2 separate regions of the Homo sapiens genome follow, and region 2 is linked to region 1. The links are contacts of gene promoters, found by promoter capture Hi-C in blood cells and fetal thymus (Javierre and others, 2016). All regions are on one chromosome and are shown on one strand. The core of a region is centred on a gene start or on the middle of the fragment in contact, and the rest is flanking DNA. Distances in the headings are between cores, read along the strand shown. Region 1 holds the start of CPA4 (carboxypeptidase A4). Region 2 overlaps LOC105375508 (a long non-coding RNA gene).

What was found. The method cuts DNA at HindIII sites, captures the fragments that hold promoters and counts their contacts. A CHiCAGO score of 5 or more calls a contact.
Region 2: a contact is called between a fragment that was not itself captured here and the fragment with the promoter of CPA4 in region 1, in 1 of 17 cell types (erythroblasts). The highest score is 5.5, in erythroblasts.

Annotation. Positions count from the first base shown.
Region 1 is chr7:130,291,206-130,294,410 of GRCh38, reverse strand. CPA4 (carboxypeptidase A4) reads right to left here and starts at 1,250. Exons shown (of 11, transcript NM_016352.4): 1 at 1,163-1,250. The coding sequence starts at 1,230. RefSeq lists an enhancer at 756-845. The HindIII fragment of the contact is 9,413 bases long and covers 740-3,205 here.
Region 2 is chr7:130,852,379-130,855,583 of GRCh38, reverse strand. LOC105375508 (a long non-coding RNA gene) reads right to left here. Exons shown (of 4, transcript XR_927978.3): 4 at 1,633-1,861. Among named protein-coding and RNA genes, the nearest start is that of MIR29A, 23 kb to the left of the region's middle. RefSeq lists an enhancer at 1,364-2,563. The HindIII fragment of the contact is 6,604 bases long and covers 1-3,205 here.

The DNA of each region.
Region 1 (3,205 bases), core at 1-2,500:
AGACACAGGTGTGAACAGAAGTCATCATCATAAAACTTAGTCAATCTCATATAAGTAATTACCTCAAAAAACAACCCCAAAGTCTCATTAGCCAGATAGTAAAATAGAAAGAAAACTAAGAGACAGATCCAAGAGATATAGGATTTTATTTGGAGATGAACTTGTGTTATAGCAAAAGGGTACGAGTTTTACGTTCAGAGTTCCAGCTCCCCTGCTTCCCAGCTAAGTGGCCTTGAGCGCGTTCCTTAACATTCTAAGGCTGATTTTTTTCATGTTTAAGTGGAAGAAAATAACACCCCTGCCTGGCAAAGTTGTTGTGTGATCAAAAAGATAATGTACATGAAAGCTCTTTGCAAATGGTAAAGTATTATGCAGTAATGAGTTATTATAATTCAGTCTTCTAACAGGGCACCATGGTATCCCTTTTATCTCTCCTACCACCCAAATGTCCTCTCCCCTGCAAACCTCAAAGTATTCTGCATGGAGCGTGTTGAGCACGTGTGTGTGTGCACACACACACGCGCACACACACACGGTGTTCAGGCATGTGTCTCTGCATGTCATTTTCATAGCTGTGTCTAGGCAAGACCTGTGAAATCTCCACGTCCCAGAAGCCAGTAAGAAAGCACCAGCTCAGAAGAGGGTGTAGCTCAGGGGTAGAGCATTAAACTGCAGATCAAGAGAAGGCACCAGCTCTGCAAAGCCTTCGCCATTAACAAAGAAGTGAAACCAACAAGCTTGAGACCCAGGGTTTCCCTTTATGCATGGCGGAAATTGGAAACAAACCATTTCTGGTAACCAGTAACTCTTAGTAATTAATAACGTAGCTCTTAGTAACCAGTAACTCTTAGTAATTAATAAGGTAGGAGTAAGAAAGTAGATGCCTGGAACTGACCTTATAAGTAAGAACTAGGCAGAAAAAGAACTGGCAGGAGATGAGGGAGCTGGGGAGAGACTGCAATGATCATCTAGTCCTGATTTCACAGATGAAATGGGGTCTCAGAGAAGAGAGTGGACTTGTCCAGGATGACACAGGGGCAAAGCTGGAACAAGAGCCCAGGTCTTCTTCCTCCATGTGAGCTATTATCAGCCATTCATTTTCAGTTCCATTTGGCTCCCATATTTCTGAAATAACCAAATAATAAGTCCAAAAGGAACTTACCCAAAAAATTTTTCTTGGCCACAGATGCTGGACCCAATAAGGGCCCCAATGAACAGTATCCACCTCATGTCCCCGGGGAGTCAGTCATACAGTGGCTGAGTCAAGCTGTATTTATAAAGAGTCTGAGAGTGACTCAAGTCCTCAAAAATGCTAATGTGATTCCCAAGCACCCTTGCAACTCTGACTGTGACAGGCAGGCCCTACCAATGCCTCTCCCATTCCTTTCAAGTGATAAAGGTTGAGCATCTCAATTTACAAGGTCAGGAACTTGCTCCAGGAGCTGAAAAAGTCTGTGCCAAGGGTACCATATTGCTCATCACTTGGCATTTAAATAGTGTTTTTTCAGTGAATAAGCTAATTCCACAGTGTTGGATGGAATTTATCCTGATAGGAGAGGTCAGATTATAAACCTGGCATAGAATTACCTCTAGAATAATAATAAAAAAGTTAAGACTATCAAAGCAAGACTGAGCTGGCTCCAAGACCACATGCTTGACAAGCCCTGCCAGAGAATTTCACCAGGGCAGGTCAGGATGAGGAAAGAGGTTTGGGGCCTCTTTTATGTATCTGAAGCCTAATTCTTCTGACTCCACTAAGGAAATAGAAATGTATCAGGCAAATGATATAGAAAGGATGTTTTAGTCTGAATAAATTATCAGTGTTCCTTGGGGTCTGATCTATGGGGAAGGCTTAATGGTTTTATCAATAATAAGATTTTCAGCCGGGCGAGGTGGCTCATGCCTGTAATCCTAGCACTTTGGGAGGCCGAGGTGGGCGGATCACGAGGTCAGGAGATTGAGACCATCCTGGCTATCACAGTGAAACCTCGTCTCTACTAAAAATACAAAAAATTAGCCGGGCGTGGTGGCGGACGCCTGTAGTCCCAGCTACTCAGGAGAATGGCGTGAACCTGGGAGGCGGAGCTTGCAGTGAGCCGAGATCGCACCACTGCACTCCAGCCTGGGCGACAGAGTGAGACTCCATCTCAAATAAATAAATAAATAAATAATAAGATTTTCTTATACTTCCTAGACTGTGGGTCTGGTGTCCTTTCCGCCAAGTCACAGCTGAATAAATGGAAGACACTCATATCTCCATAACGCCTTCAGGGGCTCTGGGACCTTTGAGTCTGTCCTGGGAGCCCCAGTTCCCACAGCCTTTCCCATCCCACCCTCCCTACGGTCTACATGCTTTCCACACCCACTCAAAGGGAGTGGACACAACCAAGGGTCATAGTTGAGAGAGTTAAAGAAAAACTATCCTGACCTGTGTTAAAATGTAAGACCTAATTCAAGATTATTATGATTAGGACCATGGCTATTTCAGTAGGAAAGACTTACTGTGCTTAACACTGAATACGGCAAAGAAAACAGAGAGGATCAGTGGGATTACTAAGAGAAGACATCAAGGTAGGGGGATTCTTGCTAAAAGCAGGCCAAGGACTTATACATCAAAGTCCCCATCAAAGGTGGGGATGAGGAACTTGATCAGATATCAAGGTGGGAGGGATGACTTCGCAGGATCTTTGCTCAGGCTGGCTTAGCCAGGGCTCAAGAACCAGCCTAATCAAAAGGAGGGTGCAGAATCTCAAGTGTGGTCCCAGAGAGAGCCTTTGTTAGGAGCTGTGGAGCTAGGGGCCATCATCTCCTCTTGCTCCCTCAGGGTCCTTTTGTCCTCTCAACACTTCAACTGAATTCCTACACCCACCCTGTCCACCACAAAGCGTGGGCTCAGCGTCACTGAGATCGATGTCAGCTTTGAAGTCAGCAACAAGAACAACTGAGACCCAAATCTGTAAGAGATGTGAAGTGGGAGAATCAAGGACCAAGCATTCTAGGCAAGCTGAAATTTAGTTCCTACCTTTTCTCCCAGGGAAAATCATCCACATGAAGAAAACCTAAATCCCTAATGGGAGTCAATATCTAAAGAGAAACTGTGTGCAACCTGAGACCGAGGCTTGATAGGGCAACCAGGAAAAAGGAATGTCATTGGCTTGGGTCCCCACCATTTGTGTGTTTGTTTTTTTTGAGACAGAGTTTCACT
Region 2 (3,205 bases), core at 510-3,009, 560 kb before region 1:
GGAAGCAAGCTCACCAGATCAACTGACCTGGGTGTTGGTCTGTACTTTCAAAACAACCCTCCTAGGTCTTGCGCCCTCTCAGGGTTTCACAAACTCCTATCTGAATCCTGAGGCTCCCACTGACAGACTTTTGACTGTAGATGGGTACAAAAATTCTTGTACCCATATTGTAGTTGGGGGATATGAGCAGGTTGCCTTCTATTTTGCCATCTTGGTGATGACACTCAGTAAATGCTTTCTTCATATTGACTTTCTGGTCCTGCTAATCTGTGAAATGGAGAGAGCCACTGTATCTCTTAGCTGTGTTAATCCAAATATCTGAGTGATCGTCCAAGACAAGGAAAGAATCTGACTACAAGGGCCCTGGAGGAAGACCCCTGGCCCCAGAATCATTTCTCTGCCTCCACCTCTCGATGGCCCTTCTAAGAGAAAAGATACATTTATGGAAGTACAGACTGATTCAGAAAGTGGGGGACATAGTGGAAGGGAGCTAACATCTGCTGAGTCCCCCGTGTGTCAGGTATGAAATGCAAACTCTCATTTTACCCTCACAGCAACTCAATGAAGGTGAGAATGTCTAGCTCCCTTTCCTAAGTACATGTACACAAACGTGGAGGCAATGCACAGTGTTGAGGTGTGCACTGCTTCCACGAAGTTGAGGAAGACCATTCTTGTTAATAATCAAGTACTTGCCCCATGTGACAAAATACATGCTTTCCTAAAGAAGTACATGAAGTTAAGTCACAGATGAAATCCTACTAATCTGCAGTTTGCATTTAAGCACTCAGTAATTCCAGGCATGGTGCTAAGCACTTTACCTAATCTCACTCAATCTTCACAACAAACTCTGCAAAACACATATATTATTATCCCCATTTTTCAGGTTAAGATATGGAGATTTGCCGAGGCTGAGTAATACAGTCAGGGTTGCACAACTACTAAGTGGCAGAGTCAGGATTTGAACTCATCTCTGCCTGACTTCCAAGGATCTCTGGGTCCTCAGACATAAGGAAAATCACAATGGAGAAAATACTTGTTATATATTGTAAGGAAAATATTATTTCCTAATAAAAATAAAAGGAGTCAAAATTACTGAAGTTGAACATCCCATCAAAGTTTCTCTGTCACCCTACAAGGTAGAGAGCAGTGGGAAAAAAAGGGACAGTCAGCTTTAAGTTTTGTTCCTTGATTTGCTGCCATGCTCCTTCAGGATAAGAACTCCTGTGGAATAGATCAGACTTGGATATGGAATTTAAATAGATAGTTCAAGTTTTTTTTCCCTCTAATTTCAGGCTTAGAATCTAGCAAAGTTAGAAGGGAAATCCTTCCACTGGGTATGTAAAATGTTAAACAAGCCCCTGAGAGTAGATGACTCTTTGCTTCTCTGACCTATACTAGAATAATATATAAAATGGAAACTGCAATAAATGAATAAAACCAAATGACACAGACACACATCTGCACACCCACTGTCTGTGTCCGAATGCTGATACACTGCAGGTACAGTACAGTGACAGGGTGTTCCTGGGAAGCCGATCAATGATTCCCTTCCACAGTTCAGGCTTTATTACAGGAGGTATTCATTAGCTAATTACAATTAGTCGAGTACCTTGGTGTGCCTTCTTCAAGAACTCCTTTAAATGCTCCTCTTTTATTCTATTTTCAAGTTCCAAAAGCAGATGCTTCTTTTATGGAAAAGCCTAATTGCTGTGGAATCTAATGCATGTCCTACTTCCATATCCAAATCTCCTCCTTCCTGTTTAATGGACAGCATTCTCATGACTCACCTTTGATTTATGGGCTGGAAGGCACCACACCTTTTTTCGGTCCTGCCTGCACATATTGTTAAGTGTGATCAACTCTGGAAAAAAGCATTCATGAGTTATGTCAATAATATGAGACACTAAAAGAGACTTGTCCTACAAACAAAACAGTAAATGACAAATCCAAGTTGTTTTAGTCCCATGTGCTTCTCTACCGCACCCTAGAGCCTATAATGATTCCGTTTTCTTCATATTTGTGGCACAAGGAATGCCTGAAAACTCATCCTTAGGTAACATGCGCCTCATTAGTATTTGTTCATTCTAACATTTTAAATTCTTTTGAATTGGCAAAAAGGAACAAAGAGAAGTGAAATTTAGATACCTAATAGATAGTGGAAAATAACAAAACAGCAGCCTATAAATCAATGGAATGTGGCGACTGTGTGTTCTGTGGTGGTGGTTCTTGTTCTGGATGGTATATATCTCTGAATAATTTCCCAGTATTCACCCAATTTGATGCTACTATGAAAAAATTATGTCTCTAAAATCCACATTCCAAATAACTCTTGTTGCAGATAATTCCCTTCTTCCCTTTTCCCATCCTAACAGAATACAATTTTGTTCAGAGGACGACGGAAAATATATCCCATTAAATACTTGCCTAACACACTGAGTGGCCTGTGACACAGGTCTGGTTAGTGATGCTGACAAAAGGCTTCTAGGTATTTATGTGAAAGCTCTTGTGTTTCTACTCAAGCACTGCTCCTTCCGCCTTGAGCGCTGATGTGAAGCCTAGAGCTGCGGCAGCCATCTTGCAACCGTGAGATGAGGAGCGTGAGAATTACAGCCTACAGCTAAGGGTGGCAGAGAAGAATGGCAGGAGCCTGGGTCCAGGATGGCACCACTGCCTCCTTTACTAGCTTCAGACTTCTTATTGCTTGAAATAAATGCCCATCACAATTGTTTAAGTCACTGCTGCTATGGTTCTTTGATGCTTGCAGGTAAAGGCTACAATAACTAATACAGGCTTACAGACACCTTAGCTTCTGTTTCTAAATTCCCAAATTAAAGCTATACATTTCTTTTAAATTCAGAAAGAAGCTAAGTAGCCGTGTTGCCCTTATTTGGGGTCTGGCATTGACACTCCACAACAGCCTCTTGCATTCATTACAATCAACTAGAGACAGACAAATACTGGAGTTAAATGGGGGAAAAAAAGAAATTATAAGCGTATAGGTAATTATGAATAGTTACTGGATCTCACAGTGAGGGACAACTATGTATAAAATCAATGGAATTATAACCTTTAGATGGGCAAAAACCAAGTCTGATGAGACCAAGTATTGCCAAGGTTGTGGGGAAATAAGATCTCTCACATACTGCTTGTGAAGTGGGTGGACTGGGCAACTACTTCAGAGGACAGTGTTTCCACATCTAGTAAA